Linked DNA regions of Homo sapiens: all the other regions are linked to region 3. Evidence: promoter capture Hi-C in human tissues and cell types (Jung and others, 2019). All regions are on one chromosome and are shown on one strand. The core of a region is centred on a gene start or on the middle of the fragment in contact, and the rest is flanking DNA. Distances in the headings are between cores, read along the strand shown. Region 1 overlaps MNAT1 (MNAT1 component of CDK activating kinase). Region 2 has its middle 3.9 kb from the start of SALRNA1. Region 3 holds the start of SIX4 (SIX homeobox 4).

Region 1 (3,981 bases), core at 146-2,645, 92 kb after region 3:
AATGCTATTATCCTATGATTGGGGAAAATATGTATATATGTGTTCTTCTACTGTGCTTTTGCCAAAAAAGCATTTAAGTCAGTTAACCAGGAGTAAAAAAAGAGAAAGCAAGATTACTTAAATTATAAGGAGGTGAGAAACTAAAGGAAAAATAAGGGTAAGGGCATTCATGAGGCTTAGATAGAAAACACTGTCATAAAACTCTATTTTCTATGACTGGAATGTGAATTTGGCTCTAAAAATGAGGACACCAGCATATTAAATAGAATAATGACGCCTTCCCTAGCAACTTTCATTAGTTCTTTCTTGAAACTATTAAGTGGCAGGTATGGCTTTAACAGTGAAATGACATGTTGTATTTTATATTTTTGTAGCTGTTTGGTGAGAAATTAAAAACTTTAAAAATGAATTAGTAAATTGATGTTACTAATTATTAGTATATAGTTACTAATTATAATTGTTTTATTGAAAGATTCTTCCCCTTATCATTTTATACAAAGAGTTACAGGCTCTTTTTTGGATAATGCTTCTCTTCTATATAATTAATTGAATTAATCCCAAATATAGAACTTTGATAGAAAATATGCTTTTAACATTTTATGTTCCATCTAATAAAAAAAGTTTTTAGATTTTATTTTGAGGTTAGCCAGCTTTGCATAACAATTATTCTTGCATATTCTTTTTCCCTTTTTTTTTTTGAGATGGAGTCTTGCTCTGTGCCCCAGCTGGAGTGCAGTGGCGTGATCTTGGCTCACTGCAACCTCTGCCTCCCTGGTTCAAGCAATTCTTTGCCTTAGCCTCCCGAGTAGCTAGGATTACAGGTGCCTGCCACCATGCCCAGCTAATTTTTTTGTATTTTTGGTAGAGATGGGGTTTCACCATCTTGGCCAGGCTGGTCATGAACTACTGACCTTGTGATCCACCCGCCTTGGCCTCCCAAAGTGCTGGGGTTACTGGTGTGAGCCACCGCGCCCAGCCGCATATTCTTTTAGTCTTTAAAGTACTGTTTTGCTGCCTCATTGAGCTGCTATTGACATGAAGCTCCCCTTTGATTCAGTGAGGCATGAAGCAAGATGTGAAACTACCATTGTTGTACATTGTGTGTAATCTGGAGTTAATATTGATTTTTGTGAGTTCTTTCTCCCACTTCCTGTTTTCTTCACCTGCAAGTCATTACTGCACATACTTTCCTCAGTGTTTAGATCATATAACATGATGATTAAATAATTCTTAGTAATTTACTGTATTCATTAGTGCAATTAATTACAACAGATTGGTTTAGAATACCACTGCAGTTTGAATTTCTGGTTTTCATTTTTAAACTTATTTTTAGATTTTGTTATGTTTATTTTTCAGTCTTTATACAATGTTATAAATGTTAAAATACTTTAAATTTTTATGACTAATGAATTCATTAAATTTATTTTTATCCTCTTGAATCCTTATTAACTAAGTAAAAGAACGTATTTCTTTTTCTGTATATGTTCATGTGTGAGATTTTGTTTAAAAAACAATAGCATTTGTAAATATGTCTAGAAGCTTAATTCTTATAATTAATCTCTGGACCTAATTTACACAAGTACTACTTATTAGAATTTTTTTCCTCCTGTTTTTGGTTCTGGTCTTTGTGCCAAAAGTCACTTTTTAACCTTTTAAAAAGTATTTGCATTATATTATACTGTATGTGACGGGATTTTAATGTTATGGTCTTAATGTTTATGGCTTAGTATTTGCAGTAATGTTGGCTAAAAGGTCCATTTATTTAATCCTAACTGTAAATTCAATTTTAAAAAAGTTTGGAAAAAGATTTTTAAACAGGTCCTGGCTTATTAAATCTTTTTATATTCCTGTTTGAAAATTCGCTTCAGTTTATGTCTTAAATTTTGTATGGGCTAATATTGTTGTCAAACGCAGTAGGTGATTTTTATTAGAAATATTGTTTGCCAGATGGCTTGCTTAAAGTCAGTTAAAATAATCTTTTAAAAATGGTCATTATAAAGCTTTTAATGAGTATTACAGGCAGTTCTTACTAAAATTTCTTTAAATATTAAACAGTGTGCCTTCAGGCAATTAATACAGGTTAGGGAACCTTTTAAGGTAAAATGTAATGCAAAGAATGAAATAACTTGAAAGGCTAAATCTGCATGTTAGATATTCCCCAGAGCATGCATGTTTCACATAGTTTATTTTACTCCATTAATATTTTTTGTTGTTGGAACTCCTACTTAATTCTAGTTTAACACTTAGTAAGGCTTCCAGGCTTCAAAATTTGAGTGCTAAAATAGAATAAAGTAGGTTGGAACTAAATTCTGTGCTTCAATATCAAAAGTGTTTTAGATCCTTAGAATGTTTGTTTTTATTAGATTTCAGCTGTTTACCAAGACACTTTAACATTCAGTTCCTTTTATGTGAATGTGAAACCAGGATTAAAACAAGCTAAAGTCTTGACTAGCAACTTTTTTTTTGAAGTTAATACGTTGCTTTTATGTAAGAATTTTTGCTTTTTAAAGGAAATACCAGTTAAAGAAGAGCACTTGAATTGATTTAGAGTATAAATTGAAAAGCAATACTTTTAACTTTTTAGCTAAGGAAATTTATTTTTCTTTTGTTAGTTTCTACATGTGAAAAGATAGAATAGCTTTTAAAAGATATTTTTTTGATCACAGCCCATTAAAAATGTTCTTTAATTTTATATTTTATTATAAAATTCTTAATGTAAATCTAGAATAGCTGCAAGGAATCTTAGCAATACAGTTACTCATGCATTACTAATGCTTTGGTGTAGAATATAAAAGGTATTCTAGTATATTCTCCTCGTACTATATTTCATCACTTTTCCTTCATTATTGTTAAAGCCAGGTCTTAATGATTTTGCTCCTTAATAAGTTTACATCTTATAAATAAATAAAATTTGTGTTCTTCCATTTACTATTAAAAGTTTTAAACTTTGTAACATTGCTCTTGCAAAACACTTCTATTATAAAATCTTGATGTGCAACTTTATTCTAGGACAATTCTATTGAATTAAGTTGCTTATTTGAGTTATTTCTATACTGTAACCTTAAACCAATTCCTTTAAGTCTGTTAATTAACCACATTTGTGCCTAAAAAATTATTAAGTTGCTAGATTTGGAAAGAAAATTAAAATCTGTATGTTTGCTTTGTGCTGTGAAATGTTAACAATAGAGTTTCTTCAGGATCAAATTCTGTGTAGTCACTATTTTAACATCTATAGCCTCTTTGAACAATATGTTTTAGCACATTATCCTGGTATAGGAGATAAAAATGTATTTGACCTTCATCTCTGTTTATGATACAGAAAATTCTCAATCTCTCTCTCTGCTTGTGTGTTTGTGTGTGTGTGTTTGTTTGTGTGTGTAGGAAAGAGAGAGAGAGATCTCTTCTTCCTCCTGGTACGTCCTTCTGCATATGTTTTTGGATTCTTATTTAACTGAAAACTCAGAAAGGAAAATGTCTGGATATCATTTAGTTTAGACCTTAACTCCACAGCACTTTAAAGATGTAAGAGGACTTCTTGTTAAACAGAATAAATAACAGTCTACATATAAAAATTAGTAATTTGCTTATGGTATTAAAATGTGTCTGAGTGCTTATAATTAATATATTAAAATGTTTAACTGTCATTTTGTTACTTAAGTTAGAAAACATAGACTTAAATTTTAAAAGTAAGTTAGTAAAGGAGAAAATAAATATACTTTTGGTTGTACTTACAATAGTTTCATTGTGCAAAATAGAACAAGGATCATTTCCAAACGGTCTCAGGTGAAATCTAATGGGAAACAATTTCAAACTGGTCTAAATTTACTGGTAAAAAGAATGCGTCTTAGATAAACATCTGATCTAAGTTATAGTACTTTGTACTACTCTTTTTGTGATTAGCTTATTTTTTTCGTTTTAATAAATGTGGTTGGTTTGCTAGTTGAAATAGGAACTTTTAATGTGGATTTTATAAAAATACTT
Region 2 (3,900 bases), core at 600-3,099, 89 kb before region 3:
TTTAAGGTAGTTATCCATATCAAAATCTTCATTGTCCTAAAGTTATACATGATCTAATAATAAAAAGGGGAAGAGATCACAAATTACAATATTTTTCATGAGCATGTTTTTACAGCAAGTTTGCCACCATAAAATGCTGAAAAGTTGAACTTTGAGAAATGAAGCTGATATTTCATTACATTCTCTGTTTAGCTCAGTTAACTAATGTTGAAATTTTTACTTTTTTTTTTTTTTTTGTGACGGAGTTTCACTCTGGTCACCCAGGCTGGAGTGCAATGGCAAAATCTCAACTCACTGCAACCTCCACCTCCCAGGTTCAAGTGATTCTCCTGCCTTAGCCTCCCAAGTAACTGGGATTACAGGCGCCTGCCACCATGCCCAGCTAATTTTTGTATTTTAGTAGAGATGGGGTTTCACCACGTTCACCAGGCTGGTCTCGAACTCCCAACCTCAGGTGACCCACCTGCCTCAGCTTCCCAAAGTGCTGGGATTACAGGCATGAGCCGCTGCGCCCAGCTGAAATTTTTACATTTTATTTGAAGTTGACTTAATTTTCCATTGTTTTGGGCTTTAATCAAAAGGAAAAAATATTTTTAACAGTTGACAGACCAGTCAGCTATCTGAGATTGACCTATAATTAAAATCATAAAATGTTATGCATCATGAAATATGCTGAAAACGTCTAGTATGTTATCTTCTAAGCACTCCATGAGGGCTAATTCATTTTACCTATAACTAATTTCCAGTAGAAAGAGAGTTACCATACTTCTGAGCATACTGACAAGTCTTTCAGTTTCATGAAGGCTAAGTGATTGAACAGGAACTACTATCTCGGCAGTTATATATATAAATTCTTTGAAGAAATTCTACAATTGAAGGGCCTAGATTTCCACAGTTATTTTATTTCACCATGATAGATCTGCTGAGTAGAAATAAGACTCCCCTCTTTATCCAGCCTTCAAGTTCAGTCATATATTTTTTTATTTGAAATGAACTAAAGCTGATTTAGAGCGGACATGCCTTTTGGAATGCCCTGAGGCCTTTCATTTCTTGAATGATATGCTAAGGTTTGGAATCTACCCAAACCTCCTCGAAGAACCCTCTGCAAAGTTTAATCTAATTTAAATTTACTTATTCCTCAGCATAAAGTGCTCTTTCTTATTTCTCTTTGTTTTTTCGAGTGAGCACATGGACATATTTTTGTGTTTCTAAACATTTGGATGCTGGAACAATATAAAAAGAAAAAATACTACATATTTTATTCTAGTCATGTTAAAAGTTGTGGCAGAAAAATATAATTCTTAGAACTCCTGGCCCTGGTATTATGCAAATCATTTCACAATATGCAAATAATTAAGCTGCAGTGTAATCACAGTTCCTACCAAATGTTTCTCCGATTATTAGACACATTCTTAAAAGTGATGGACCTGAAGTTTCACTTTATCTTCTATCCATTTCTGTGTACTGATTACATTTAAATCTTTGCTTTGCAAATAAAAGTAGTATTAGAACATGTATTTGCCAAAAATATGTGTGTAAACAAGTATAATTTTGCAGGCATAAAGCAGAGTATAAATATATAACAAGTCTTTAGGTAAATTATTAAACATGCATCTGCTGTTTCCAGCTCTACTTCCAGGAATTTGTGAGTGTAATACATAATTTTTTTTTTTTTTTGAGATGGAGTTTTGCTTTTGTTGCCCAGGCTGGAGTGCAATGGCATGATCTCAGGTGACTGCAACTTCCGCCTCCCAGGTTCAAGCGATTCTCCTGCCTCAGCCTCCCAAGTAGCTGGAATTACAGGCTGAGATGGGTGGATTACCTGAGGTCAGGAGTTCAAGACCAGAATTTTTTTATTATTACTATACTTTAAGTTTTAGGGTACATGTGCACAATGTGCAGGTTTGTTACATATGTATACATGTGCCATGTTGGTGTGCTGCACCCATTAACTTGTCATTTACATTAGGTATATCTCTTAATGCTATCCCTCCCCCCTCCCCCCACCCCAGAATTTTTTAAACAAACAAAAAAAAAGTGTTCAACTCTTTCTGAGCCTATATGGTGATTGACTACAAATTGATTAACTTCTCTAAATTTAAAATTTAAACATACACAGTTTTTAGTTGGCCAGGATACTTTTGAAGAAAATAAAGATGATGGAAGAACATGTAGTGTTAAACAACTAAATAAAAAATGGTTTTCCAGGCCAGGCTCAGTGGCTCATGCCTATAATTCCAGCACTTTGGGAGACTGAGGCAGAGGATTGCTTGATTCCAGGAGTTCAAGACCAGCCTGGACAACATAGTAAGACCTCATCTCTACAAAAAATAAAAATAAAAAACAAAATTAGCCACGCATGTAGTCCTAGCTACTTAGGAGGCTGAGGTGGGAGGACCATTTGAGCCTGTGAGCTCAAGGCTGCAGCAAGCCGTGATTGTGCCACTGCAGCAAGCCATGATCGTGCCACTACACTCTAGCCTAAGCAACAGAGTGAGAGCCTGTCAAAAAAAAAAAATCTTTCCAGTAGTAATAACAGTGAAATAACTGTGAAGGGATTGCAGTGCATGAGGATCCATCCTTAAAAACACCTACCACAGGCATACTCCACCTACTCTCTAGGTTTCATATCTACTTGTGCTGGGGTTGTTCCTCCTACCAATAGTTCTCTGGTTCTACCACTGCATCATTCTAGGGAGAAACAGTCCCCTTCCTGTTCCTCTCTCCCCGCTCCCACTTTTACCCAAGAAAATTTCAGCTATGCATTTTGCTTTCAATAATACCTGAATGAGAAAGTCCTTGAAATAAGAGAAGGATGTATTATATGTCAAAATGAGCTATTCATCCCTGGTGATCATTAGAGTGTCACAAGAGAAGAAATGTACCCAGGAGGGTCTTGCAAAATTTCAACTCTGGGAAATGTGTTCTATCTAAAGACTCTCCATCATTTCAGCAGCCCATTCATTTACTCAAAAATATTTATCAGGTGCCATTATATCCAGCACTGTGTTAACATCAGCAAGACATTAAATCTTAAAAGTAGTTTCTTATTCTACACTTATGTTGACACATTTAGGTGGGGCCTTAAATTCTCTACTCAGCTAAATGCTTTAGTTCTCTTCTAAGTAATTTGTCATTTTCCGTCACATTTAAGTGGGTTTTATTTTTTATCAATAGAATTCTACCATATATAATGACATTTACGTAAAAGTTCAAATCATGAGAAATAGCGATAGCAAAATCCAAGCATTACAGATTTAAATATTCTTCCGGAATTAAATTACTGGAGTTAAACTTCTAGATTCCAGACTCACAGTTTCAAGAACTAAATTTCAGCTTTGACTACCCTCAAAGTCTAATCAAGCCCTATGTCTTCATAGAATAACTTGCGTTTCTTTTCGTGATCCAGAAAAGGAGGAAATGGCCATAATCTGCCCTCACTACAAACTCTAGCATCACGGGAATTTTCCCAGGCGGCTTTGTGGCAGTCTAAGGAGGCTCCAAGCATGTTATAACTGCTATTCATTTAACGTCTATAGTGCCAAGCACTTTACATTCAAGACTTTGGCTAATTTTAAGCTTCCCTTGCAGTCTAAATATTGTAGTTCCTATTTTCCCGAAGAGGAAATCGAGGCTCAGAGATGTTAACTTGACTCAAACCAATGCAATTTGTGTGTGCCAGCGATGCATCTGTGACATTGCCCCATCAATTCTCTCCACAATGTGTTTGTACGTTTAAGAAAGAAAAAACAATCATCCGTGAAGGTTGAGGAGAGAGATGGGGGTTGATAATGTTGTCTGAGAAAGATTTCTGAACACAAGGGGAAATTTAAAAAGAAAATTCTGTAACAAAACAAACCAGTCGCAGCTGTTTGGGTTAAGGGGGAAAACTCGCCTTGA
Region 3 (4,014 bases), core at 1,155-3,654:
CCCTCCCAGCCTTGGGCGAGGAACGCCGGAGCCCGAGCCGTCGGACCCCCACAGGGGCCCAGAAGCGGCAAGGGCGGGCTGAGACCGGCTCTGGAATGCGCTGGTGATCACCTTCACCTGGCGCAGGCGGGCTGGATCCCCGGCTCCCAGTTTGCTTCCCCGAGAAGAACCTTCGAGCTGCTTTTGGATTCTTTCTCTCCTATCCCCGCGGGGCTGGAGACACCAGGTCTTTAGGCGACCTTCTCCTTACTTTGTTTCGTCCAACAAAACACACAGACGCACACACCAAGTGTCTGACTCGGGAGGACGCACAAAAGAGGTGGAAAATCCGGTATTTTTTTTACCAGAGGGGGAAAGCAGTCTGCCAGGCAAAAAGCTCAAACCCAGTGGGGTGGGAGCGCCCCCACTCCTTTGCTGCCGCCCGCCGTAAGCCGGCCTGCCCCCCACCCATAACTACCGTACCAGGAGGGAGCCAAGCAGCGTTCGGGGGCCGAGGGAGGAAGCAGCCCTTCAGCCCTGCTACCCCGGCTGCGCTGAAACCCGATCCTAAGGAGTTCAGAATCAGGTTTCAAAACATGACAGAGCCGAGCTGCACCAGCACCCCACGTTGCCGCGGCCGCTAAGGGAACCATAGGGGCAGGGTGAATGATTAACTCTGTCATATGAAACCTCGACGTTCCGAGACCCCTTCTGCGCCGCCAGTCCCACAACACTCTCTTCCCTTCACCAGAGCAGCCACCGCGACCTCCAGCGCAGGCCCGGGGGGCGGCTGAACCCTGGGGATCCGGGAGCGTGCGCGCGCGCCAGGCCCGGTGTGACCTCGCGGAGGTGCAGACCCCGGCCGGCGCCGGCAGTCTCTGCGGGCCTCGGGCGGCAGGGAGAGCTACGGTGCCGGTGTCCACATTTGCTTCGTTAGCCCCTCCAGAAACGGGGAGAGGGTGGCAACTTCAAAGCCAGCGGGATGGGGGTGGGAAGCTGGGCAGCAGTGACCAGCCGAGGTGGGGGCGGGGACTGAGACCTAGGCGGGCGACCAGAAACTTCTGGGGGGAGAGGGGGAGGGTAAGGAGGGAGGTTCCCCCGCCCCCCGCCTCCGCCGCCCCCTACCTCTGCCGGCCGGGGAGCGAGGTAGGGGGCGGGGAGAGGTGGGCAGCCGGACCAGGCTGGTGGGGAAGGTAAGCGCCATGTTTGCGAGCACTTGGAGGAAAAGAAAGCCGGGAAGGGGGTGGGGGAGAGGAAGGGGGAGGAGGAGGAAAGTTGGCGCTCACCTTTTGGACTGGGTCTCGGAGGGGTTCCTGTCGCGCTGCCGGCGGTTCTTGAACCAGTTGCTGACCTGGGTGAGGGAGAGGCCGGTGATCTTGGCCAGGTGCCGCTTCTCGGCGGGCGAAGGGTAGCGATTCTGCTTGTAGAGCTCCTTGAGCGCGTTGCGCGACTTCTCCTTGAAACAATACACCGTCTCCTCGCCGTCCCAGATGGTGCGGGGCAGGGGGAATTTCCTGCGCAGCCGGTACTTGTCTACGGCTCCCAGCGGCCGGCCGCGGGCTCGCTCGGCCTCGGTGTAGCGCGCCTTGTACCAGAGCTGCTGCAGCAGCGGGTGGTTGGCCGACTCGAAGCTGTGGCTCTCGAGGATGCTGTAGAGCTCGGGGTAGATGCCCTGGTGGAAGGCCACGAGCGCCCGCGCCTTCAGCAGGCTCTCGTTGCCACGTAGCAGGTCGCTCTGGGGCAGGGACCACAGGAACCGGGCCAGGCGGTCCAGGTTGCCCCCCTGCTGCAGTGCCTCGCACACGCAGGCGACGTGGTCGGGCGAGAAGGCCAGCGGGGTCTGCGCGGCGGCGGCGGCGGCGTGGTGGTGCCTGCCCAGAAGTTCCGAGTGGAGTTGTACCTGATCCGCCGCCGCTCCGGCCGCCGCCGCCGCCACTGCCCCTTCCTCTCCGCTCACCCTGGCGGCAGCGGTCGCGGCGTCCCCCGGCTCCAGGGGAAAAGGGGCTGGAGCCGGGGGGCTCAGCCCTACCGCCGCGCCCCCCGCCACTTCTCGGTGCGCCTCCTGCCCTTCCGAGGCGCTTTCCATCCCATTCTCTTGCTTGATGTCCGCCGCACTTGCGATCTGCCCGGTGGGGGAGGAAGAGGACATTTTTTGTTGTTTATTTTCCTCCCTCCCTCACTCCCTCGCACTCTTTTCCTCTTTCTTTCCTCCTCTCTTACTCCTCCTCCTTCGTCTCCCTCCCTCCTCTCCCCCTCCGGAAAGCCCACTCCCTCCCTCCTGGTTTCGGCTGTATCTGGCCGATCAGGTTTCCCCCCGGCCACGCAGTCACCATTAAGATAGCTGTTAGAGCAAAGTAGTGTAAACGGATAGCTGCTTTCTGCCGTTCCCCCAACGTGACTCCTCCGGTTGCTGCATACTATATGGCAGTGGCGGCCGGGCCGGCCCGGCCTAGCCACCTCATTGGCTATTTCGCATTCAGAGGGAGGAGGAGACACAGTTTCTATCCCTGTCGATCACCCGCCTCCCACTCCACCCCTCGCCTTTCCCTCCCCTCCTGACCCCCAGGCACCTATACCTGAAGGAAAACACCGACATTCTTTCCAAGCCACGCTCCTGGGCGGGAAATTACCTAATGTGGCCTGAAAACTGGACAACTCTTTCAAACAGAGGCCCTACAATTCCAGAGGGAATATTAATTGTGTGGCCTTAAGGTCTGGATGGTTAAATTTTTAACAAAGAGACCACCCTCAGCATCTAGATGACAAAACTTCAGAGGACAATTCAGAAGCCCCCCAGTATGTCCCTGTTCCCCATTCTCCCTCTTTTTGGATGTCTTTATCAAGGATTTTGTATTCAAAACGGTCAAAAATAAAATGACACTAGGAAATGTTCTAAGGGGCAAGCATTTACAGTAAATTAAAATTCCAAAGAGGGAAAAATGCTTGAAAACCTTATAATTAGCAGCATAAATAGCACACTGAGAAGACAAAAACAAGAAGCCTTCAAAAAATGTACTTAACCTTAAGCCACGTGGAGGGCTGGCAACCCAACTGAGTTGAACATGGTATAATTAAACATGTAGAATATTAAACCATAAGTTTATCCTGGATGAGTCGTGTGGAAGAGATCTAAGCTTTAAATATGGAAATTTAAGTTTTCTACATGAACTTTTTAATGTAAGTATATGAGTATTTCTTTTTTAACGATGATAGGCTAGAAACACTGAATGTGCGGGTGTCATCCAGATCAGTGCAGGATCAGAAGCCCTTTTCCACAGCATAGACAGATTGCCCTCTGGTTTGATGCTGAAGTGGGGGTAGAGTCTTTTGTTGTTTGCAGTTGTGTCTCTTTCCTTTGTAATTTGCACAAGATCTTAATTCCAAAAGGGATGATCCATTTCTGCTTCTTTGATTACTGTAGGTCAGTTGGGTTTGCCTGCTGCTGCTCTTTCTCAAAATTCAACTTTTTTTCCCCCCGAGATGGAGTCTCGCTCTGTCGCCCAGGCTGGAGTGCAGTGGTGTGATCTCGGCTCACTGCAAGCTCCGCCTCCTGGGTTCACGCCATTCTCCTGCCTCAGCCTCCCGAGTAGCTGGGACTACAGGCGCCCGCCACCACGCCCAGCTAATTTTTTTTTTTTTTTTTTTTTTGTATTTTTTAGTAGAGACGGGGTTTCACCACGTTAGCCAGGATGGTCTCGATCTCCTGACCTCGTGATCCGTCCGCCTCGGCCTCTCAAAATTCAACATTTTAATGACATCATCCTAACCTTTGCTTCAGGGTGGCCTTGTATTGTGTATGCTTCCCAGCTACTCATAGCTGCCTACTTCAGCATATTACAAAGCAGCTGTCTAGGTCACCTGCCGTCATGATAAACTTGGTGAGATTTTCTTTTTTTTTGTAGACAGGCTTTATTTTATTGCTGGTCAATCAAGATGTCATTTGATGTAGGATTTAACTTGTTTTTGCATTACCCTAATGTGTTGACATCGCTGGTAGATTTAAAATTTATAACAACAGAAAAGGCCATATTATTT

Evidence for each region. The method cuts DNA at HindIII sites, captures the fragments that hold promoters and counts their contacts. A contact is called where the count stands out against the background at its distance.
Region 1: a fragment that was not itself captured here is called in contact with the fragment with the promoter of SIX4 in region 3 in 2 of the 25 tissues and cell types used here (IMR-90 fibroblasts and adrenal gland).
Region 2: a contact is called between a fragment that was not itself captured here and the fragment with the promoter of SIX4 in region 3, in 2 of the 25 tissues and cell types used here (H1 embryonic stem cells and IMR-90 fibroblasts).

Annotation. Positions count from the first base shown.
Region 1 is chr14:60,814,537-60,818,517 of GRCh38, forward strand. All of the region lies in intron 5 of MNAT1 (MNAT1 component of CDK activating kinase), which reads left to right. Among named protein-coding and RNA genes, the nearest start is that of MNAT1, 82 kb to the left of the region's middle. The HindIII fragment of the contact is 3,774 bases long and covers 1-3,282 here.
Region 2 is chr14:60,633,332-60,637,231 of GRCh38, forward strand. No RefSeq gene overlaps it. Among named protein-coding and RNA genes, the nearest start is that of SALRNA1, 3.9 kb to the right of the region's middle. The HindIII fragment of the contact is 6,155 bases long and covers 1-3,900 here.
Region 3 is chr14:60,721,947-60,725,960 of GRCh38, forward strand. It overlaps SIX4 (SIX homeobox 4), which reads right to left and starts at 2,405. Exons shown (of 3, transcript NM_017420.5): 1 at 1,266-2,405. The coding sequence starts at 2,128. RefSeq lists silencers at 470-539, 1,818-1,887. The HindIII fragment of the contact is 7,845 bases long and covers 1-3,747 here.